Linked DNA regions of Homo sapiens: all the other regions are linked to region 1. Evidence: promoter capture Hi-C in 16 types of primary human blood cells and fetal thymus (Javierre and others, 2016). All regions are on one chromosome and are shown on one strand. Each heading gives the region's core, a stretch centred on a gene start or on the middle of the fragment in contact. The rest is flanking DNA. Distances are from core to core; before and after follow the strand shown. Region 1 holds the start of NPIPB15 (nuclear pore complex interacting protein family member B15). Region 2 overlaps PDPR (pyruvate dehydrogenase phosphatase regulatory subunit). Region 3 overlaps PDPR (pyruvate dehydrogenase phosphatase regulatory subunit). Region 4 overlaps PDPR (pyruvate dehydrogenase phosphatase regulatory subunit).

The links. The method cuts DNA at HindIII sites, captures the fragments that hold promoters and counts their contacts. A CHiCAGO score of 5 or more calls a contact.
Region 2: a contact is called between a fragment that was not itself captured here and the fragment with the promoter of NPIPB15 in region 1, in 11 of 17 cell types (M1 macrophages, total CD8 T cells, M2 macrophages and 8 more). The highest score is 22.1, in M1 macrophages.
Region 3: a fragment that was not itself captured here is called in contact with the fragment with the promoter of NPIPB15 in region 1 in 5 of 17 cell types (M1 macrophages, total CD4 T cells, naive CD4 T cells and 2 more); the score reaches 17.7 in M1 macrophages.
Region 4: a contact is called between a fragment that was not itself captured here and the fragment with the promoter of NPIPB15 in region 1, in 16 of 17 cell types (M1 macrophages, total CD4 T cells, non-activated CD4 T cells and 13 more). The highest score is 222.3, in M1 macrophages.

What each region holds. Positions count from the first base shown.
Region 1 is chr16:74,371,849-74,377,694 of GRCh38, forward strand. It overlaps NPIPB15 (nuclear pore complex interacting protein family member B15), which reads left to right and starts at 4,458. Exons shown (of 8, transcript NM_001306094.2): 1 at 4,458-5,498. The HindIII fragment of the contact is 9,807 bases long and covers 391-5,846 here.
Region 2 is chr16:70,122,904-70,128,749 of GRCh38, forward strand. PDPR (pyruvate dehydrogenase phosphatase regulatory subunit) reads left to right here. Exons shown (of 19, transcript NM_017990.5): 4 at 4,357-4,490. Among named protein-coding and RNA genes, the nearest start is that of PDPR, 11 kb to the left of the region's middle. The HindIII fragment of the contact is 1,358 bases long and covers 1,696-3,053 here.
Region 3 is chr16:70,140,693-70,146,538 of GRCh38, forward strand. It overlaps PDPR (pyruvate dehydrogenase phosphatase regulatory subunit), which reads left to right. Exons shown (of 19, transcript NM_017990.5): 12 at 1,542-1,697; 13 at 1,861-1,994; 14 at 2,818-2,966; 15 at 3,729-3,841; 16 at 5,442-5,536. Among named protein-coding and RNA genes, the nearest start is that of PDPR, 29 kb to the left of the region's middle. The HindIII fragment of the contact is 5,651 bases long and covers 918-5,846 here.
Region 4 is chr16:70,159,262-70,165,107 of GRCh38, forward strand. PDPR (pyruvate dehydrogenase phosphatase regulatory subunit) reads left to right here. Exons shown (of 19, transcript NM_017990.5): 19 at 1-3,276. The region is part of intron 1 of LOC400541 (a long non-coding RNA gene); the gene reads right to left. Among named protein-coding and RNA genes, the nearest start is that of CLEC18C, 12 kb to the right of the region's middle. The HindIII fragment of the contact is 2,489 bases long and covers 980-3,468 here.

The DNA.
Region 1 (5,846 bases), core at 3,208-5,707:
CCCGGCCTGGAACTTCTCTCTCTTTTTTTTTTTTTGAGACGGAGTCTCGCTCAGTCACCCAGGCTGGAGTGCAGTGGCACCATCTCGGCTCGCTGCAAGCTCCGTCTCCTGGGTTCATGCCATTCTCCTGCCTCAGCCTCCCGAGTAGCTGGGACTACAGGCGCCCACCACTATGCCCGGCTAATTTTTTTGTATTTTTAGTAGAGATGGGGTTTCACCGTGTTAGCCAGGATGGTCTCGATCTCCTGACCTCGTGATCTGCCTGCCTCAGCCTCCCAAAGTGCTGGGATTACAGGCGTGGGCCGCGGCACCCGGCCCAGGAACTTCTCTTATATCTAGAAGCCACCGGATGTTAACTAAGAGTCCTGGGAAGAAATGGTAGTCATTTAAAGCTTTTTTAAGAGGGAAGACTTGCACTGGGTCTTAATGAAAATACATAGGACAAAATTTTTCCTTCTGTATCAGCTCACGTAATCTTTCTGGCAATCTCATGAAGTAAATTTTAGCAGATAGAGTAGACACAGATGTAACATGACTTTTCCAAGATCACACACCTAGGAGGAAGGACCAGAAATGGAGCTCTTCCCATGTTGAATATCTGAATCTAATGATCTTTGCACTATGCCATAGGACAGGTGGCCAGGAAAGCATCTGAGACTGGGTGATGTAAGGGCTGGATACAGAGACAGAAAAAAGCAGGCAGTGTAACAGGAAGGAACGCAGCTAGCTATGGTAGATGGGATGTTGTTTTCAATTCCTCATTCCCTATTGCCATGTGACCTTGCAGTGCACGAAATGGGGGGAGTAGGATTCCTGTCCCACTGATGTTGGTTGGCTTCAGTCAAACATTATTATTATTATTTTGAGATGGAGTCTTGCTCTGTCGCTAGGCTGGAGTGCAGTGGCACGATCTCGGCTCACTGCAACCTCTGCCTCCTGGGTTCAAGCAATTCTTCTGCCTCAGCCTCCCGATTAGCTGGTACTACAGGAGCACGCCACCACACCCAGCTAATTTTTGTATATATAAATTTTTTTTAGTTGAGACAGGGTTTCACCATGTTGGCCAGGATGGCCTCAATCTCTTGACCTTGTGATCCGCCCGCCTTGGCCTCCCAACGTGCTGGGATTACAGGCGTGAGCCATTGCACCTGGCCAACCAAACTTATTTTTTAAGGTGGGTAGAAGCCATAGTGTACAGATCTGGAGATTGGCCTTAAGAGGTGTTGAGCATGTCATCAGCCCTTGTCACAAGTTTATGCCCTGAGTAGCTGTTGGATCATGGAAAGTGAAAGGCACTTGAAACAGACCTGAACTCAGCCTGAAGCCAAGCCTGCTGACCCTCAGCCTGAAACAAAGCTGTCCAAGCCTGCTGACCCTCAGTTTGAAACAAAGCTGTCCAAGCCTACTGACTCTCAGTTTGAAACACAGCTGTCCAGCTAGACCATAGTCACCTACAGTCTCATGAGCATGGCACTGAATGCTTTGTTGTAAGGCACTGAGTTTTGGGCTGGTTTACTAGGTAGCCTTTTTTGCAGCTCAAATAAAGGCTGTCTGATAGTGCAATTATATAAGAATGGTGAAATCAGGGCCTACGCCTTCTTAAGGAAATCTTCACTCACTGCAGTCTTGCAAGTCAATGGTCTTATTCTGCTTATCCAACTAATTCTGGAGCAGCTACATCTGGGAACCCCGTAGGCTCACGTCTACAACAGTGTCTTCATCCTGTCTTCTCAATCAGCCCCTTCTATTTCCAGTTCCAGGAATGGCCAACCACACCAGAAACCTGGGACTCACCTGGTCTCCCCACTCGCCTCTCCCTCCACCTCCTGCTCATCACCCAGCCTCAAAGGGTCTGTCTCCTCAGTGCCTCTCCTCTGTTCGGACCTCTCTGTCCCTACCACCGCTGCTGTGGTTGAGAGGGTTGTCAGCCCTGACTTCGAGAACAATCTTTTTTTTTTTTTGAGATGGAGCCTCAGTCTGTCGCCCAGGCTGGAGTGCAGTGGTGCGATCTTGGCTCACTGCAACCTCCGCCTCCCGGGTTGAAGTGATTCTCCTGCCTCAGCCTCCTGAGTAGCTGGGATTACAGGCATGCACCACCATGCCCCGCTAATTTTTGTATGTTTAGTAGAGACTGGGTTTCACCATATTGGTCAGGCTGGTCTCGAACTCCAAACCTTGTGATCCGCCCGCCTCTGAGATCAGAACTGAGATCACGCCACTGCATTCCAACCTGGGCAACAAGAGCTAACTCTGTCTCAAAAAAAAAAAAAAAAGTTTTTAAAGACAGGGTCTCGCTATGTTGCCCATGCTGGTCTTGAATTCCTGGGGTCAAGTGATGCTTCTGCTTTAGCCTCCCAAGGAGCTGGAATCATGGGTGCCCACCACCATGCTCGGCTACTATTTTCTTCAAAATTCAAATATTCTAGCTTAACAGTACCTATTAGATAAATAAATGGCAATTTTCTGGAACATTCTTTTTTTGGTTTTGTTTTGGTTTTTTTTTTTTTTTTTTTTTTTTGAAACGGAGTCTCCCTCTGTCGCCCAGGCTGGAGTGCAGTGGCGCAATCTCGGCTCACTGCCAGCTCCGCTTCCCGAGTTCACGCCATTCTCCTGCCTCAGCCTGCCGAGTAGCTACGACTACAGGTGCCTGCTACCACGCCCGGCTAATTTTTCTGTAGTTTTAGTAGAGACGGGGTTTCACCGTGTTAGCCAGGATGGTCTCGATCTCCTGACCTCGTGATCCACCCGCCTCGGCCTCCCAAAGTGCTGGGATTACAGGCTTGAGCCGTGGCACCCGGCCCAGGAACTTCTCTTATATCTAGAAGCCAGGCTTGGTGACTCTACTTGCTCACCAGATGATCCTACACCTGCCACCTCCGATGGATCCACTGCCTCTGTGCCTGCCTGTACTGCTGATGCTCCAGTGGATAACTCAGCATCCCAGCCTAGGCCCAATGCCACTGAAGATGGACCTGCCCCCTGGAGACCCAGGAGTTCTACCACTCAGCTGTCCCCAGAAGTGCCCAGACCCTCATTCTTATCCAGGACCTAGGAGCCCTACCCCCTGGCCTTCCGTCATCAGCCGTAAATGATGATTTACTGCTGTTACCATCATCACTGCATTTAGTAACCAAGGGCCTTCCAAGGTGCCAGCTCTGGAACGAAGGATGCCTTTGGGAGGTGATGACACTCAGGTACACGGGTGCTCAACAGATTGCTTCCTCCTATCCTCAGATGGTCTTTGCATGCATGCAGCCATTGGCACTCCCATTGTACGCAAGGAAACCAGCCCAGGGTCACACAGCTGGTCAGCAGCAACACAGCTGGTCTCAAATCTAAGGTGCCTGGCCATGCCTCCATGAGGGACCGCCTGCAAGGGAGGTTGATCCTGGCTTTGGGGAGCCTTTCCTGGGCTGCACGAGTAACCTCCAATGTTTGAGGCCCCAAACTCTGCTCACATCTTCCTTTCCCTGTCTCTGCTTGGGCTATGATCACGGTGACTCTAGCAACCCTTCATGGACATTATAGTACTCTCTGCCATTCACTTTTGGTCTAATCTGACTTCAACCCCCACTTACTTGGTCTCTCCTTTTACAACCAACACAACCGAAATCCGAGGGCTTCTTTTTTTTTGAGACAGAGTCTCATTCCATTCTGTCACCCAGGCTGGAGTGCAATGGCACGATCTCGGCTCACTGCAACCTCCACCTCCTGGGTTCAAGGGATTGTCCTGCCTCAGCCTCCTGAGTAGCTGGGATTACAGGCGGGTGCCACCGTGCCTGGCTAATTTTTGTATTTTTAGTAGAGACGGGGTTTCACCATGTTGGTCAGGCTGATCTCGAACTCCTAACCTCGTGATCCGCCTGCCTCAGCCTCCCAAAGTGCTGGGATTACAGGCGTGAGCCACCATGCCCAGCCAAATCTAGGGCTGGAACATGGCTGCAGCATATAAATAGAATTGAATTCCATAGTTTTGTTAACCCTGTTTTTTGTTTGTTTGTAGTTGTTGCTGTTTTTGAGACTGAGTCTCGCTCTGTCGCCTAGGCTGGAGTGCAGTGGTGCAATCTCGGCTCACTGCAGACTCTGCCTCCCGGGTTCAAACTATTCTCCTGCCTCAGCCTCCCAAGTAGGTGGGACTAAGGCGCCCACCACCACACCCGGCTAATTTTTGTATTTTATTAGAGACAGGGTTTCACCATATTGGCCAGGCTGGTCTGGAACTCCTGACCTTGTGATCCACCCACCTCGGCCTCCCAAAGTGCTGGGATTACAGGCGTGAGCCACCACACCCAGCCCCTGTTTTGTTTTTGTTTTGCTTGTTTCTTAGGGTTGTTTTTCTATTTATGGTAAAGGCATTGGCTTTCCATTTGTAGCATCAATAGAATATTTCCTGTTTACAATAACCTTATGTCATAGTAAATGGTAAAGGGATTTAAAGCAGTGGTTTTCAGCTGCCAGAGGCCTGAGTGAGTTTGGGCACACTCTGTGTGATCGGGCAGAAGGCCTGTGGGAAGTTCAGCTGAGGACAGGGCCAGGAAAGGTGATGGACAGTGGGGGTCTGTCCTGGTCACCAGACCCCTGGGTCCTGCCCACCTGCTTGGAGCTCCCCACCCATCACACATGATGCTGCCAAGCCCTCTGGGTATTGTGGGCAAATACCTTAGGAGAGAAGCTGATGAACTTTGTTTCTTGAAATGCACAGATTCCTTGGACGTCCCTGAGAGGTCAATGATGAAGGTCAACTTGGTTTTCTCCCCCTCATTTGGGTTCAGAATTTAAAGTCCACACACACAGGCAGTAAGATGATTATAGATAAGGACATCATCACTCGGTTTCAGATGTTAAAATGTCTAGGTGGGTTAGGGGTGATTTGAGATCACACAACCTTGTGCCACAAAGAGGAATTCCCAGGCCAGGGGGAGACATTTTATTGCCATGTTATGATCTCATCATTGAGTTGAAAGGCAATCTTGTTTCATTTTGGATTCTTTCTTATGTTTATGTCTTATAAGGGCACTTTGAATTTCCAAGCAAATAATAATTTTGAATTAGCTTTTAATCATTGACTTCTAGCACAGTTATATGATCAGAAACATGCTGTGTGATTTGATTGCTCTCAAATATATTGAGATTTGCTGGAACAAAATAAGTCAGGTTAATTTTTGTAAATGTACCATGCATGCTTAAAATGAATGTATCTACATTTGTTCCTGAGATACAGGTTGATGGACGGATGGCTACATGGATGTGATGGAGATGGTTTACTATCGGGACCTTCCGCATCCTGCTGATGTTTTGTTGCTTAGGATATGAATGGCTGAGCGGAGGCTGTAAAACCTGGCACTCTGCTTGGGTATGAAGTTCTTCCTGCCATCCTGCCATCATTTGTTTTTTATGTTTTGTCGCCAAAAGTGACCTTGAGGAACCCTGGGAGCTCAGGAAGGAAGGAGAGCCCAGAAGCAGGGACAGGGAGCTGGTTGGGGAGGACCAGAAATCAGGTTTGTGAAGGTTCCAGAGAGGACCTGTCCTTGCGAGGAGTGTGGGAGACTGAGATGGGGGAGGGGTCATTGGAATGATGCGGGCGCTACTTGGCATTGTCCATTGTGAGGCACCACCGGGGTCATCAGGGATTGGTGGAGAGGGAGTATAAAGCCCCAGGGTTGCTAAGGGAGGGCCCAGACCGAAGAAGGTTTGGTGGATAGCAGAACCTTTTTGTCTCCCTCTAATTGCTCCTAAGCCTCACGCTCCCTTGCCCCACGTGTCCTGTTGCTTCCCTGATCTTCTCCGTGACCTGTAGCTAAACCTTCCACCAGCGCTTGAGAACTTAATTTGAACCGGATCCTTTC
Region 2 (5,846 bases), core at 1,125-3,624, 4.3 Mb before region 1:
GATAGTTTTTTTTTTGAGACAGAGTCTTGCTTTGTCACCCAGGCTGGAGTGCAGTGACGTGATCTCGGCTCACTGCAACCTGTGCCTCCCGGATTCCAGTGATTCTCCTGCCCCAGGCTCCCAAGTAGCTGGGATTAATAGTTGCATGCCACCACACCTGGCTAATTCTTGTATTTTTAGTATAGATGGGGTTTCACCATGTTGGCCAGGCAGGTCTTGAACTCCTGACCTCAGCTGATCCACCCGCCTCAGCCTCCCAAAGTGCTGGGATTACAGGCATGAGCCACCGTGCCCGGCCCGCAGTGGATACTTTTAAGAGCAAAAGTGGGTTTTGTTTTTGTTAATGTTTTTGAGACAGAGTCTCACGCTGTCACTCAGGCTGGAGTGCAGTGGTTCAATCTCAGCTCACTACAACCTCTGCCTCCTGGGCTCAAGTGATCCTCCCACCACAGCCTCCTGAGTAGCTGGGACTACAGGCATGCACTACCATGCCTGGCTAATTTTTTGTTTTTTTGGTAGAGACGTGATTTCACCTTGTTGTCCAGGCTGGCCTCAAACTCCTGGGCTCAAGTGATCCGCCCACCTCAACCTCCCAAAGTACTGGGGTTACAGGTGTGGGCCGCCACACTTGGCCTCATAATGCTTCCTTGATGTCAAAGTCTTTCTCCTATTTTTTGAAATCCTTTTAAATTTAATTATCAGGTATTTCCACAAAAAGTGATAAACTAATCGCAGTGTAAATGTTTCTAAGTGGGAGACCCTAGGGAGGTTCATTTTTGGTTTAATTTGTTGCTTCAAGATTATATAATACCTTAGAATTGATATAAGGCAGACTATTTAAACCTCACACTTAAAAATAATTACGCCAGCCAGGCACGATCGCTCACACCTGTAATCCCAGGACTTTGGGAGGCCAAGGTGAGTGGATCACCGGAGATCAGGAGTTCGAGACCAGCTTGGCCAACATGGTGAAACGCCGTCTCTACTAAAAAATACAGAAATTAACTGGGAGTGGTTATTCGCGTCTGTTAATCTCAGCTACTCGGGAGGCTGAGGTAGGAAAATCACTTGAATCCAGGAGGCGGAGGATGCAGTGAGCCAAGATCGCACCATTGCACCCCAGCCTGGGCGACAGAGCAAGACTCAGTCTCAAAAAAAAAAAAAAAAATTATGCCTCGGCCAAGTGCAGTGGCTCATGCCTGTTATCCCACGACTTTGGGAGGCCAAGGTGGGTGGATCACCTGAGGTCGGGAGTTCAAGACCAGCCTGCCCAACATGGGGAAACCCCGTCTCTACTAAAAATGCAAAAATTAGCTGGGCGTGGTGGCATAAGCCTGTAATTGTAGCTACTCAGGAGGCTGAGGCAGGAGAATTGCTTGAACCTGGGAGGCAGAGATTGCAGTGAGCCAAGTTTGTGCCACTGCCCTCCAGCCTGGGCAACAGAGTGAGACTGTCTCAAAAAATAATAGTTATTATTATGCCTTATCCGTGGCTTGTGAAATGGTTTTATACTGCCCTTTATGTATAATTATTCCTCTTGTCCATCTTCACTATTGTTCTCATAGATCAATGGGTCTTAAATCTGTCTGCACATTAGAATCAGCTGGGGAGCTTTTAACAATTACCAGTGCCCAGACCTCTCCCCAGAACAAACCAGAATCTCTAGGGGTGAGGCCAGGCATCAATATTTTTAAAAGCTTCCCCGGGGACTCTAATGTACCTCCAAGGGCGAGAGCCACTGTCAAAGCTGCTCAAGGAGTGCTATCCCAGCAGAGACGTCACCAGAGCTATAGGTGCTGACCACCAGCCAGTTAATGGAACTCCCACCTGGGGTGGAGCTCCACACAGTTACAAAGATGATAGAAAAATCTCTTTAGGGAGCTGACAATCTTATGTGGAAAATATAATTATTAGAGTAAATACAGTAAACTCAAGTGACAGGCATGCTGACACAGATGTTAGTTTATTTACTGAGTGATAAATAATTTGGGGAAAATGACCTTAGAACCCCCCACCTGCTTTCTTGACATATGGGTCCCTTGCAAAACTGGGTCTTTGGGCCCTAGCATTACTGTAGCCTTTATATTCTGTTGCTACCACAAATTAGAGAACATTTTTTTCAATGTAAAGTTTATGTACTTTTGAATAGGCAATGTATTTATATGATTCAAAATTGAAAATATGTAAAAGAAGCTGGGTGCAGTGGCTTATGCCGGTAATCCCAGCACTTTGGGAGGCTGAGGCGGGTGGATCATCTAAGGTCAGGAATTCGAAACCAGCCTGGCCAACATGGCAAAACCCCATCTCTACTAAAAATACAAATTTAGCCAGGCATGGTGGTGCACACCTGTAATCCTAGCTACTTGGGAGGTTGAGGCAAGAGAATTGCTTGAACCTGGGAGGTGGAGGTTGCGGTGAGCCGAGATTGTGCCATTGCACTCCAATCTGAGTGACGAGCAAAACTCCGTCTCTAAAAAAACAAACAAACAAAAAAACAAAAATTAGCTGGGCATGGTGACACACACCTGTAATCCCTGCTACTCGGGAGACTGAGGCAGGAGAATAGCTTGAACCCAGGAGGCAGAGGTTGCAGTAAGCCGAGATTGTGCCATTGCACTCCAGCCTGGGTGACAAGGGAAACTGCGTCTCAAAAAAAAAAAAAAAAAAAAAAGTATATATATATATATGTAAAAGAGTATACAGGAAAAAGACTCCCCAATGTTCTTTCCTTTTCTTTCTTTTTTTTTTTAAGATGGAGTCTTGCTCTGTCACCCAGGCTGTAGTGCAGTGGTGCAGCCTCAGCTCCTGCAACCTCTGCCTCCTGGGTTCAGGCGATCCTCCTGCCTCAGCCTTCTGAATAGCTGGGATTACAGACGCCTGCCACCATGCCCGGCTGATTTTTGTATTTTTAGTAGAGATGGGGTTTCGCCATGTTGGCCAGGCTGGTCTCGAACGCCTGACCTCAAGTGATCTGCCTGCCTCAGCCTCCCAAAGTGCTGGGATTATAGATGTGAACCACTGCACCCAGCCCTCAATCTTCACTTCTAACAAAAAGCTTTCTCTCTGGAGGGAAGTTAAGTTCTAGTTATATTCTCTACTTCTATAAGCAATTATGTGTTGGTAGGTTTGTGTATATGTGTATGGATATTCATTTATTATATTTTTTCTCTTTTTTATATAAGTGGGAGCATACCTTACACACTGTTCTTCACCTTGCTTTTTCATTATGATTGTTCCATTTTGGTACATAAAGACCTTTTCATTCTTTTTTATAGCTGCATAATATTCCATTGTATAGATGAATTCCAAAATTTTATTTTATTTTAGAGATGGGGTCTTGCTCTATTGCTTAGTCTGAAGTGTAGTGGCACAATGCTAGCTCACTGCAGCCGCAAACTTTTGGGATCAAGGGATCTTCTTGCCTCAGCTTCCCAAGTAGCCTGGCTAACTTTTATCTTTATTTTTTTTACTTTTTTTTGAGGCGGAGTCTCGCTCTGTCACCCAGGCTGGAACGCCGTGGCACAGTCTTGACTCACTGCAAGCTCCACCTCCCGGGTTCATGCCATTCTCCTTCCTCAGCCTCCCGAGTAGCTGGGACTACAGGCGCCTGCCACAATGCCTGGCTAATTTTTTGTATTTTTTGTAGAGACGGGGTTTCACTGTGTTAGCCAAGATGGTTTCGATCTCCTGACCTTGTGATCCGCCCACCTCAGCCTCCCAAAGTGCTGGGATTACAGGCGTGAGCCACCGCACTCAGCCTTTATTTTTATTTGTTTATTTATTTTTATTTTTATCTTTTTTTGGTAGAGACACAGTCTGGCTATGTTGCCCAGGCCAGTCTTGAACTCCTGGCCTCCAGTGAACCTGCTACCTCAGCCTGTCAAAGTGCTGGGATTACAGGCATGAGCCACTGTGCCTGGCCTAAACTATCCAGAATTTTAAATCTGTCCCATGTCATTGAACATTTTTCTCACCCTGTTGCCCAAGCTGGAGTGCAGAGATGTGATCACAGCTCACTGCAACCTCTACCTTTTGAACTCAAGCGCTCCTCTGGCCTTAGCCTCCCAAGTAGCTGGGACTGCAGGCATGTGCTACCATGCCTGGCTAATTTTGTTGTTGTTGTTGGTAGAGATGGGTTCTCCCTGTGTTGACCAGGCTGGTCGTAAACCCCTGTCCTCAAGCAGTCCTCAGTCCTCCTACCTTGGCCTCCTAAAGTGCTGGGATTATAAGTGTGAGCCACTGTGCCCAGCTTGTTTCCATCTTTTGGTGTTAGAAACAGTATTAAATGAGAAACCCTGACCTCGTATTCACAGATGACGTCAATCTACCTAATAGCATTTTGCATCCATCCTGCAGGCTGGCTGCTGGCTCTACCAGGTTCTGTGCTGGCATCCTGAGCACTGCCAGGCACTTGACCATTGAGCAGAAGATGGCAGACTACTCAAACAAACTCTACTATCAGTTAGAGCAAGAAACAGGGATCCAAACAGGTAAGCAAGTGTCTTCCATTTATTGCTTTGCCTGTCCCTGAGATTGTTATATTCATTTCTGTATTTGGTCCTCTGCCAGGTGTGCCTGCTGCTTTGGTAATTAAAACTTGGGTTGGCCGGGCATGGTGGCTCACGCCTGTAATCCCAGCACTTTGGGAGGCCGAGGCAGGCGGATCACGAGGTCAGGAGATCGAGACCATCCTGGCTAACATGGTGAAACCCCGTCTCTACTAAGAAATTAAGAAAATATGTAAATTATCCTTACTGTACTTCTTTTGAAAATAAGATACCAAATTGCTTCAACTCTTTCTTCATAAGAATTAAGAGTCATTGCATTTTAGGAGAATTGTCATTGGCCCAAGTGTAATTATGGTTCTATATCAGGTGTGTTGATTACAGACAACAGGAATTGGCTCTGGCCAACTTGGAGCTTGTTGGGAGGAGCTTGGGCCTGTGGAGTTGGCAGGAGGCTGCCAGCTGGAGGCAGCCTGGAAGCCAGGATGTGGGGACTGCACCGCAGGCAGTCCCTCAGCGAGAACAGGAGCAGCCTGGCGTGGCTGATGCTGCCCTTGAGATGGTGACCTCTAGTCATTCACCTACGTGCTCAAGACTGACTCTTCCAGGAGGGTCTGATTGGATAAGCTTAGGTCACATGCCCACTGTTTGGCTATACTGGGGAAGAAGAAGGGAGAATCCGACCCTTGGTAGCTGATGTTATTGTGAGTGGCCTTTGCCAGGGATTACACTCCCCCAAGACTAGGAGGAGAAAGGGTGAAACTGCCTAAAAGGTGGGAAGAATAGGGATGGTCGAATCCCTGCCCAAAACTGTCTTTTTTTTTTTTCTTTTTTTTAAAGACAAAGTCTCACTCTGTTACCCAGGCTAGAGTGCAGTGGTGCAATTTTGACCCACTGCAACCTCCACCTCCTGGGTTCAAGCAATTCTCCTGCCTCAGCCTTCCCGGTAGCTGGGATTACAGGCGTGCACCACCACACCTGGCTAATTTTTATATTTTTAGTAGAGACAGGGTTTCACCATGCTGGCCAGGCTGGTCTCAAACTACTGACCTCAGATGATCCGCCCCCCTCAGCCTCCCAAAGTGCTGCGATTACAAGCATGAGCCACTACACCTGGCCTAGAATCTCATTTGATCCTCACAACCTCACAAAACTGTGAGCTGAGAATGTTTGGTCAGGGCATGGAGCCTTAGTGCATCTGAAGTTCTTAAAATTTTGCATAGAAGCTCAGAGAAGCTGATTTACCTGCCCAAGGATATTGAGTGGCAGTCCCAGGATTCATCACAGGTCTTCTAACCTATAATCTAGTGGATTTTCCACTCTCCTGTCCTACATTTGGTC
Region 3 (5,846 bases), core at 2,493-4,992, 4.2 Mb before region 1:
TGATCCCAGCTACTTGGCAGGCTGAGGCAGGACAATCACTTGAACCCGGGAGATGGAGGTTGCAGTGAGCCAAGATCTCACCACTGCACTCTAGCCTGGGTGATAGAGAGGGATTCCATCTCAACAAAAAATAAAAAAAAAATAGAAAAGAAAATGGGGGAGGGGATGATAGAACCGAAAGTACTAGGAGATGGAGAGATTGTCACCATGCAGAGAACCCCACCTGGCTTCCTTCTCCTGTCTCCCAACCTCCCCAAGCCTTGATGTGCCTTTTGTTTGGGATGGTGTGAGATCAGGGACCACAGATCACACTCTTCTGGCTTTTTTTACTTATTGCTGTTGAAGATTAGACCTTAAGGGAAATGAATTTTTTTTTTTTCCGAGACAGTCTTGCTCTATTGCCCAGGCTGGAGTGCCGTGGCGTGATTTCGGCTCACTGCAACCTCTGCCTCCTGGGTTCAAACAATTCTCCTGCCTCAGCCTCCCGAGTAGCTGGGATTACAGGCGCCTGCCACCATGCCTGGCTAATTTATGTATTTTTAGTAGAGACAGGGTTTCACCACATTGGTCAGGCTGATCTTGAACTCCTGACCTCGTGATCCGCCCACCTCGACCTCTCAGTGCTGGGTTTACAGACGTGAGCCACCACACCCGGCCTAAGAGAAATGAATTCTGACCCTAGCTTTGTTGTGTGAATAATGTCATTGGTACAATACAATATAACTTCTCAGATTTCAGAGCCACCTAATCAAGCTGCAATATGTACCCTTTCACTTCAGAAGTGAGTTAATTATCAGGGAGGAAATGTCTGTAACAGGTCTGAGATCCTAACACAGGCACAATGAAGAATCGAATGCCATTTTTTCACATTTTGTTACCACCTGTGTCCCACTTAGTAACCTTCTTCTCTGCTATGAAGCTTGGTAAGGTTTAGGACCCTGACCTTTCTGCCATCATTTCTACCTACTAATGTGGAATGCTGAATGTGAATACAGGCCGAGTCATGCCGTGACACGTAGCTCCAGGGAGGGACGATAGCAGCTTGGCAGGATTGTCTTTTCCTTCTGGAGCATGCCTGATACACTGGGTAATTTTGAAAATTAGACTACATTAGCCTGGAAATTGGGCCGGGCAGAGTGGCTCACGCCTGTAATCCCAGCACTTCGGGAGGCTGGGGCGGGCAGATCACCTGAGGTCAGGAGTTTGAGACCAGCCTGACCAACATGGAGAAACCCTGTCTCTACTAAAAATACAAAAATTAGTGTGGCACGGTGACACGTGCCTGTAATCCCAGCTACTCGGGAGGCTGAGGCAGGAGAATCGCTTAAACCCAGGAGGCAGAGGTTGCAGTAAGCCGAGATTGTGCCACTGCACTCCAGCCTGGACAACAAGAGCAAAACTCCGTCTTAAAAAAAAAAAAAAACTACGTTAGCCTGGAAAGCTCTTTTGAATAGAAACAACTCCAGAGTCTAGTGGACATGGGCTACTCAGGTCTAGAATCTGTGTCTTGGGCTTTGATAGACTACTCGTGTCTTTTCTAGCTTTGATGTATGATCTGAAGGTTCCCCGCTGGGACTTCCAGACCGGTAGGCAGTTACGCACCTCTCCTCTCTACGACCGGCTGGATGCACAGGGAGCCAGGTGGATGGAGAAACATGGATTTGAGAGGCCAAAGTACTTTGTTCCCCCCGACAAGGGTAAGAAGTCACATTCTCATTTTTGCTTCTTTTTTTTTTTTTTGTCCTGGGAATTAATAAAACATATTTTCAAATGCATAGGCTAGAATGTGTTCACAGAAGAAAAAGAACCACGTGGACTACACTAAACTCTACAGGGCCTTGTGATTTTTCCATTCCGTAGACCTCCTGGCATTGGAGCAGAGCAAGACTTTCTATAAGCCAGATTGGTTTGACATCGTGGAGTCTGAAGTCAAGTGCTGTAAGGAAGCTGTGTGTGTCATTGACATGTCCTCTTTCACAAAGTTTGAGATAACAGTAAGTATTTGGGAACCAAAAAGTAATAGATTAGGAAACTTTACATATTTATTGAATGCCTTTTGTTTTTCATCTTCAAAACTGATTCCTGACTGGGTGCAGTGGGTCATGCCTGTATTCCCAGCACTTTGGGAGGCCAAGGGGGCGTGGATCACCTGAGGTCAGAGTTCCAGACCAGCCTGGCCAAGATGGTGAAACCCCGTTTCTACTAAAAATACAAAAATTAAGGCCAGGAGTGGTGGCTCATGCCTGTAATCCCAGCAGTTTGGGAGGCCGAGACGGGTGGATCACCTGAGATCAGGAGTTCAAGACCAGCCTGGCCAACATGGCGAAACCGTCTCTACCAAAAATACAAAAAATTAACCAGGCATGGTGGCGGGCACTTGTAATCCCAGCTACTCGGGAGGCAGGAGAATCGCGTGAACTCATGAGGTGGAGGTTGCAGTGAGCTGAGATTGCGCCACTGCACTCAGCCTGGGCAACAGAGTGAGACTCCATCTCAAAAAAAAAAACAAAAAACAAAAACAAAACACTGATTTCTTAAGAATTCTGGTATATTTTAGTGTTTCATCTGTATTGTAACATTTTTCTGAAATTTTAGCTCCTTGTTTCAGGTTTTTAATTTGCTAGAGAGGCCTGTTTATCATAAGAATCAATAGCTAGCGTTCCCTGGAGCTTCTTGCAGTGGAGTAGGTCTGCAAATGTTGTCACATGGGAATTGGCTGATTGAATTTTCTCAATGAGGTTCATTGCTGGTGGGGCCATGTGGCCCAGCCAGGTGCTCTCACGCTCACTCTCTCTGTTTCATTCCCTAACCCTGCAGTCCACTGGGGATCAGGCATTAGAAGTTCTACAGTACCTCTTCTCCAATGACCTGGATGTGCCTGTGGGCCACATTGTGCATACTGGCATGCTCAACGAGGGTGGAGGGTATGAAAATGACTGCAGCATAGCACGACTGAACAAGCGCAGGTGAGATGAGCTGCCGTCCCGCTCTGCTCCCTCCAACATGTTGATTCCTTAGGGGTGCTGTAGCAGAGGCTCTCAGGCGCTTCTCCGGGAACCATAAATCCCAGAGTCTAAGAATCATTACATGAAATCAAAGCCAGTTTATTAGCAGTCCTAAACAAAAGAAATCACCAGGAGGAAAAGAAAAAAAAGCCCACCAGATTATGTACCCTACTGGGAGAAGATGCCTTGTCTTTTTTCTTTTTTTTTTTTTTGAGACAGGGTCTCACTTTGTTACCCAGGCTGGAGTGCAGTGATGCGATCATGGATCCCTGCAGCCTGGACCTCCTGGGCTCAAGTGATCCTCCCACCTCAGCTTTCCAGGTAGCTGGGACCACAGGTACACGCCACCACACCCAGCCAGTTTTTGTATATTTTGTAGAGATAGGGTTTTGCCACATTGCCCAGGCTGATCTTGAACACCTGAGCTCAAGCAATCTGCCCACCTTGGCCTCCAAAGTGCTGGGATTACAGGTGTGAGCCACTGTGCCCAGCCGATGTCTTAACGTTAGTAAATCTGTATAATTTCTTGGCATTAACAGGAAGCCAGAATTTTGTTTTGTTGTTAGGTGGTGTATCCTAGAATGGTGCTACTGGCCTTCTGTGAAAGCTAAGAAATCATTTCCTAGTATTTGCCTCATTGCTTTGAAACCAAATAAGATTTGATTGCTTCCTGATCCTTTTGCTGCTACCTGGTTTTGATTATTTTGGGGTCTCACTTTTCAGTTTCTTCATGATCTCTCCAACCGACCAGCAGGTCCACTGTTGGGCCTGGCTTAAGAAACACATGCCGAAAGACAGCAACCTGCTCCTGGAGGACGTCACCTGGAAGTACACAGGTACGGGGGTTCGGGCTCTGCCACGTCGAAAAGGCCAGCAGATGCAGATGTGTCCACGTTTGCCTTCTTTACATTTGACTCTCAAAAATGAACATTAGAGTTAGCATAAAAGAGGCTCTCTGGTCATAGAAAATTGATCTCTAGGGGATGCGGTGGCTGACACCTGTAATCCCAGCACTTTTGGAGGCCGAGGTTGGAGGATCACTAGGTCAGGAGTTCGAGACCAACCTGGACTATATGGTGAAACCCCGTCTCTACTAGAAATACAAAAATTAGCTGGGCGTGGTGGCACACACCTGTAATCCCAGCTACTTGGGAGGCTGAGGCAGGAGAATCACTTGAACCCAGGAGGCAGAGGTTGCAGTGAGCCCCAGATTGCACCACTGCACTCCAGCCTAGGCGAGTGAGACTCCATCTCAAAAAAAAAAAGAAAATTGAGGGCTGGACACAGTGGCTTACACCTGTAATCCCAGCACTTTGGGAGGCTGAGGCGGGCGGATCATGAGGTCAGGAATTTGAGACCAGCCTGGCCAACATGGTGAAACCCCATCTCTACTAAAAATACAAAAATTAGCTGGACATGGTGGTGCATGCCTGTAGTCCCAGCTACTCATGAGGCTGAAGCAGGAGAATCGCTTGAATCTGGGAGGCAGAGGTTGCAGTGAGCCAAGATCATGCCATTGCACCTCCACCTCCCGGGTTCAAGCGATTCTTCTGCCTCAGCCTCCCAAGTAGCTGGGATTATAGGCGCCCGCCACCACGCCGGGCTAATTTCTGTATTTTTAGTAGAGATGGGGTTTCACCATGTTGGCCAGGCTGGTCTTGAACTCTTGACCTCGTGATCCACCTGCTTCGGCCTCCCAAAGTGCTGGGATTACAGGCATGAGCCACCACGCCCAGTCCCAGAGAGTACCTAATTTTTAAGGATGACTTGGTTCCCTGATTTTCTCACTCTCAGCAGTCTCGGCTTAACCCCTCCCACCTTCCCACCTAACTGATCTTGCCCCTTGGCCCCACCAGCGTTTGCTCTCCCAGGCTCTCATTCTCAATTCCTTGTAGTAGCAAATATGATATACGTCCTGCTCCTGGATTGGGATACTACAGAATGTTACTGAACAAAAGTCATGTTCTAGCCTGTCTTAGGATGGATGACATGTAATTAGCACAAGCTGATGTCACAAACACTGGTGTCCAGAATAATGCTTTCCTTATCTAGTAAGCATTAGGATATGTTTGAAGTGGATTTAGCTTCTCTGAATTTAAAGTCTGTATACTTTTTGGTTGGGCAGATCTCCACCGGGTACTGATTTGGGGTTGGGGCTTCTTCCATCACATAGCCTTGCTGGGAAAAGGAGGAGAACGGGAATTGTGTGGGGTGGTTATGGCCAGCCCTGCTGCGTTCAGCAGGCCCTGTTGGCAGAGGTGTATTCGCCAGAATCGGGGTGCTTAGCATCCATCCTTGGAGTGTCTAAGCAAAGGGACATATTCCTGGTCTCTGCACCCAGGCCTGGCTATAGCTGAGCAAGTCTACAGTAGACCTTTCCCATTGGCTCAGCTGTTCAGAAGGAGAGCTGGACATCTCTTGTTCTTTTCCATTTAGCCCTCAATCTGATTGGCCCTCGAGCTGTGGATGTGCTGTCTGAGTTGTCCTATGCCCCTATGACTCCAGACCACTTCCCAAGCCTCTTTTGCAAGGTAAGTGCTGATAAAGTTCTGTTTCTTAAATGGGCAGAGAATGTGTCTTTCATAGCGGTGGCAGGTACATATTCTTACTATGGTGTTAGCACCCACAAAGAGTGTCTTGGCTGGGTGAGGTGGCACATGCCTGTAATCCTAGCACTTTGGGAGGCCGAGGCAGGTGGATCACCCAAAGTCAGGAGTTTGAGACCAGCCTGGCCAACATGGTGAGACCCTGTCTCTGTTAAAAATACAAAAATTAGCTGGGTATGGTCTCACGCACCTATAATCCCAGCTACTTGGGAGGCTGAGGCACAGGAATCGCTTG
Region 4 (5,846 bases), core at 974-3,473, 4.2 Mb before region 1:
TGTTGAAGTAGAACCAGAAATCCTGACCTCCTGTTAAATGACATCAGTTTCCCCCTCTGAGCAACAGACTGCTTGTCTTGCTAGGAGAGGAGGATGGGGGGCTGAGCACTCAGGCTGTCCATTGAAACCCCTTGTCCATGAATAGGGTCATACTCCTAAGACTGATGGGGTGTTGATCTTCTAGGACATCACTTGTTTATTCAGTGCCCCAAACACAGATTTCTCTTCTAGCACTTTAGAGTTGATCCTTGAAGTCTCTCCTGGTTCATTCAAATACAAGCTGTGTGAGTCTGGTGGTTTTCTGTGATTGGTCTAATGTGAGCTCTTTGAACAGACAGATCTGACAGTGAATGACTCTCCCCTGCTTCTGGCATAACTGCTTTGCCTCTGTCTAGTGTCCAAGCATCTTAGCTGTTCAAGAGGAGAGGGCAGCATAACTTCCTGACCACCGGTGTCAGATATCAGAGCATTCTGGACTCCTGAGAGGCAGTGGCCTCTTGAGTGAACAGGGGAGGCCAGTAGATGCCCCAGATCCAGAGCCGTGGCTGCAAATCCAGCAGGAATAAGGAGGGACAACCACAGCCTCCTCATCCATGTGTCATTTCCAAGGGTTTGCCTTGTGTCTCAGCTCATTCTGGGCAGCACGTTTGTCTTCTGTCCCTAGAGATTTGAAGGATTTTGGACTCTTGTGAATGGGTGACTGGACTTGGCTTTACAGAGTTGGGTGCTTTTTTCTCTCTGCAATTACCTGTCATAGCATTTTGTGCTCACCACGAAGGATGGTCTCTGCCTTCTCTTGTCGGTGTATGCCATCTGAACCTAGGAACACAAAGTATATTGGCCTCAAACGGAGACCCAGGGTTGCCAGTTTTCCGTGGGCCTTCCCCTCCCTTGAAATGTCTTTAATTACCTCCCCTTCATCGTCAGGCCACGTGTGACTTCTGTTCTTAGCACTGCCAGGGTCATTGACTTCCATCTAAGCTTGCATCAGGAAGATGTTCCTTCTGTGATCATTGGTACTGAAGCCAGAAAAGCTCTCATTCAGGAACTCTGAAGAGCAAAAAGGGACAAACACTAACTGCTGAGCTGGGCCATTTGATCTCCTTTCACCTTGCATTGCTGTCACAGCACCTTGTATGATGGCAGGACAGGCTCCAGCAGAGAGAACTGCACAGTGACCACTGTATTTTTCACGCTCTTCCAGGGATCCCTGTCCCCCGACATTGAAGAGATCTCATTCAGGCCAGAGACACAGAGACCACATAGCCCAGTGATTAAACCCCGGTTTCACTCTGGCCCCAGGAGTGGAGCCTGGCCACTCCTGTTTGGTTCTCACTGGGAGGCCCACTGGCCTTGGATCATCTCCTCATGCACACCCGGAGTTTTACCTGCTTGCTTGCTTTCCTGGACTGCTGTTTGCAAGAAAGTAACTAAAACATGAAAAGTAAACCTCCAGCTTCCACAGTATATTACCTGCCGTTGCATGCATTTGAAAGTTAGCCTCCTCCCTTGCCACCGTCTTGGTGGCAGTAGCGATGCAAGAATGATGGGAGCTTTCCGAGAGCGTTCAGTGTTTCACTGAAGACAGGACCCATAGCCTTCATTTCTGGCTCTGTGTCTCCTCTGGCATATGGACACATTTCCTGGCATTTGCCTGAGTCTACACCACTTTTTGAGAACCTGAAATAGAAGGGAATCTTCTGTGGCCCACAGTCTCCATATTGGCACTAGAAGACTGGCCTGGCGGAGGAATTTGCGTTGGCTTGCTTTCAGGGGTTAGCTACAAGATTCAGCTTTATATCTCTGTTGCTTCTTGGCCAGTGTAGTCAATAAGGGTCTTCTTTAACATCTAAGATAGAGGTTTGGTTGGCCGGGCGTGGTCGCTTACTCCTGTAATCCCAGCACTTTGGGAGGCCCAGTGAGGTGGGAGAATTGCTTGAACCCAGGAGGCAGAGGTTGCAGTGAGCTGAGATTGCACCACTGCACTCCAGCCTGGGTAACAGAGTGAGACTCTTGTCTCAAAAAAAAAAAAAAAAAAATCTAAGATAGAGGTTTGGTCAACAGTGCTTAATAATAAATAAGAACCTCCTGCCATTCTAATTTTCCTGCTGCACCCCATCCCCCACACACCCCTCACGAACATTGATATAAGCAGTATTAACACAGTATAAAGAATGTTCACCTTGCATATGTCATTTCAGGCACATGGATTCAGGAGAAGCACAGTTGAGTGGAAGAAATGGTAGACTTGTGAGGCTTGCCCCAGGCCTTGTGTACACGCAATAAGTGGTGAGCCATGGGTCTCTCCGTCAGCGCCTCCCTCCCCGCCACCACTTCAGGCCAACAATTTAAGGTGCTGAGTTGTAAGGCTCCTCCATTGTCAGTACAGGGCTCGCCTTTGTAGCCCTGATCACTACCAGTACACTTTTCAAGACAACTGAGTATTTTTGTATGCCTTTGCCTTCCCTTTGTCCATGAAACATGAAGAGTTGTTTATGGTTCTTGACTTCTCTGAGCAGAGTGTCTGCATCTCTTGGAGAGTTACACATTTCTTCATGAGCCATTTTTCTCATTCTTAGATGCACCTGTTTTTATCCTTTGCAGACCATCTTCTGCCTTCTTATTTTCCTGTCTGTCAAAGACAGAAATTACAGGAGATAGGGAGGGTTTTTTAGCATCTCTTTCAAAAGATGTATGTCAGAATTTCCTTTGCACACCAAGAACTGGAGCTTAGAGCCCCACTATTCTCTAAGCCAGGTTCTAGTGCCTTACACTCCAGAATGTCAGATGGTGGGTGCAGATTGGAAGAAAGAGAAAAGTTCATCTCGGTGTGTGGGTTCCCATCCGCCCCACATAGCCTCTCCTTCTTCGGAACAATGGGCGTGGGGTAGAAAGCTCTTTCAGTGAAGGGTGTTCTAGCAGCTCAGTTAACACTTTACTCTCCAGTCAACACTTGGGACATATAAAAATGCCATTGTAACTACTGTAGAGTCCTGTGACTCATCGTTTGTGTTTGTCAATTTGCAGTTCAGCTTAGCCCTTCCCTGTTCCTGTGTAGTTACAATCTGGCCCTGAAGACATCCGAGGCACTTCAGTAAGTGGGATCTTTTCTAGAGATCCTGGGTGACTTTGGGTGCACAGGGTGACCGAGCATTTCTGCCCCTGTGAATGTGGCACTAACACTGTGCACTGTCTCCACCAAGCAAGGTTTCCACTGAGTTTCTTCTCATGTTACTGGGTTTGTAAATGAATAAACACATTTTAACTACTCTTGCACGGCTGCTTGTGAAATGTTCTTCATCTGTAGTGACTTAAATGTGTTTGCCACCACAAAGCATAAACAGCGTGCAGAGGAGAGTGTGTACCTCCCTGTGTGTACCAGTGTGAGGGAGGATTTGGGGACGGGGGTAGAGAAGATGTAGGTGTTTATCTTACCCTCCCTGCAGCGCTGGAGTGGCTGGGGGTAAAAGCTTCCCGCCTCCTGAAATTCCGACCGGCCTTCTGCCTACAGCTGACCTCAGGAGGAACCTGCCACCTGATGTTCCACACGGGCACGTGTGCACTCAGGTTTGTGTGGAAAGCAAGGGGGGTCGTGTTCTCACCCTGTGGAAACAACCCTGAGAGAAACAACCAGTGCTCTTTTTCTACACCAGCTTCCATCCACAAGTTGGTCCCTGGACTTGACCTGTTCACTAATTTTTTTTTTTGAGGCAGAGTCTTGCTCTTTTGCCCAGGCTGGAGTACAGTGGTGTGATCTTGGCTTACTGCAACCTCCACTCCCAGGTTCAAGTGATTTCCTGCCTTAGCCTCCAGAGTAGCTGGGATTACAGGCACGCGCCACCATGCCCAGCTAATTTTTGTATTTTCGTAGAGACGGGGTTTCGCCAGGTTGGCCAGGCTGGTCTCAAACCCCCAACCTCAAGTGATCCACCCACCTTGGCCTCCCAAAGTGCTGGGATTACAGGCGTGAGCCACTGTGCCTGGCCCAAAGTAATTTTTGAGTAGTTTTTTTTTTTTTAAGTATTTGTACTTTTGAGAATCTCATAGGTTAACATGTTTACAACAATCTCTTCATCTTGTCTTCTAAATCAGCCCCTTCTATTCCAGTTCCAGGAATAGTCAACCACGCCAGAAACCTGGGACTCACCTGGTCTCCCCACTCGCCTCTCCCTACACCTCCCGCTCATTACCCAGCCTCACAGGGCTGTCTCCTCAGTGCCTCTCCTCTGTTCGGACCTCACTGTCCCCACCACTGCTGCTGTGGCAGAGAGGGTTGTCAGCCCTGACTTCGAGAACAATCTCTTACTGATTTTCCTGCTTCTCATGTCATCCCCCCTCCCTCTGCAGGGTTGTCTTTGTAAAACAGGGGAGGTCAATTTACTCACTGCCTTGAAACCCTCAAGGGACTCCCCTTTGTCGTGAGACAAAGCTCTCAGTCCTTAGCCTGGCCAGCCAGGGTCTCCAGGGTGTGGCAGGCCACGCTGCCCCAGGGCTCCGGCCTGCGCTGCGTGTGATGTGGGTCCTGCAGCCGAGTGCGTGCTCGCCATCCACAGCTGGATCTCACCTCGAATCCTGCTTTCCAGTCACACTGAGAGGTCTCCCACTCCCATATTTGCTCACTAAAATGCCTCCTGGCAGCCCTCCCCTGTGCTTGTGGAAAGTCGCAAATTGAGGATCACATGGACCCCCACTCCCCCAAGTTGTCCTGACAGAGACCTCCTGTCTTTCATTTGATTGATTGATTGAGACGGAGTTTTGTTCTTCTTGCTTAGGCTGCTGGAGTGCAGTGGCGAGATCTCGGCTCACCACAACCTCCGCCTCCCAGGTTCAAGCAATTCTGCCTCAGCCTCCTGAGTAGCTGGGATAACAGGCATGCGCCACCATGCCTGGCTAATTTTGTATTTTTAGTAGAGACGAGGTTTCACTATGGTGGTCATTGGTCAGGCTGGTCTCGAACTCCTGACCTCAGGTGATCAACCCACCTCAGCCTCCCAAAGTGCTGGGATTACAGGTGTGAGCCACAGTGCCTGGCCCCTCCTGTCTTTCAAAAGCTCTGCCCAAGACCACCATCATCCCACAGTGGAGCCTTTCCTTCCCCAAGAGAATGGCCCCTTTGGGGTCCTCACACACCCGTTTCTGATGTGTCTTTATTTGGTTATCTGCCCTGCTCCTTCTGTAAGTCCCTCGGAGAAAGACTCGAATTCTCCCAAACTCCAACACCTCACATGGTGTTTGGTGTTTAACAGATGATTAAATGAATGGGCAAAAAGTGGAGGGCAAAATCTTTAAAATGTCTTTTAAGATTTAAGGATTTTAGGCCAGGTGCGGTGGCTCACACCTGTAATCCCAGCACTTTGGAATGCCGAGGCGGGCGGATCACCTGAGGTTGGGAATTCGAGACCAGCCTGACCAACATGGAGAAACCTTGTCTCTACTAAAAATACAAAATTAGGCGTGGTAGCGCATGCCTATAATCCCAGCTTCGCGGGAGGCTGAGGCAGGACAATCGCTTGAACTCAGGAGGTGGAGGTTGCAGTGAGCCGAGATCACGCCATTGCACTCCAGCCTGGGCAACAAGAGCGAAACTCTGTCTCAAAAAGAAAAAAAGATTTAAGGATTTTAAATGTTTGATTTTTTTTTCTTGTTGAGATAGAGTCTTGCTTTGTCGCCAGGCTGGAGTGTAGTGGCGTGATCTCGGCTCACTGCAACCTCTGACTCCCTGGTTCAAGGGATTCTCCCACCTCAGCCTCCCGAGTAGCTGGGATTACAGGCACACGCCACCACGCCCAGCTAATTTTTTGTATTTTTAGTAGATACCGGGTTTCACCATGTTGACCAGCATGGTC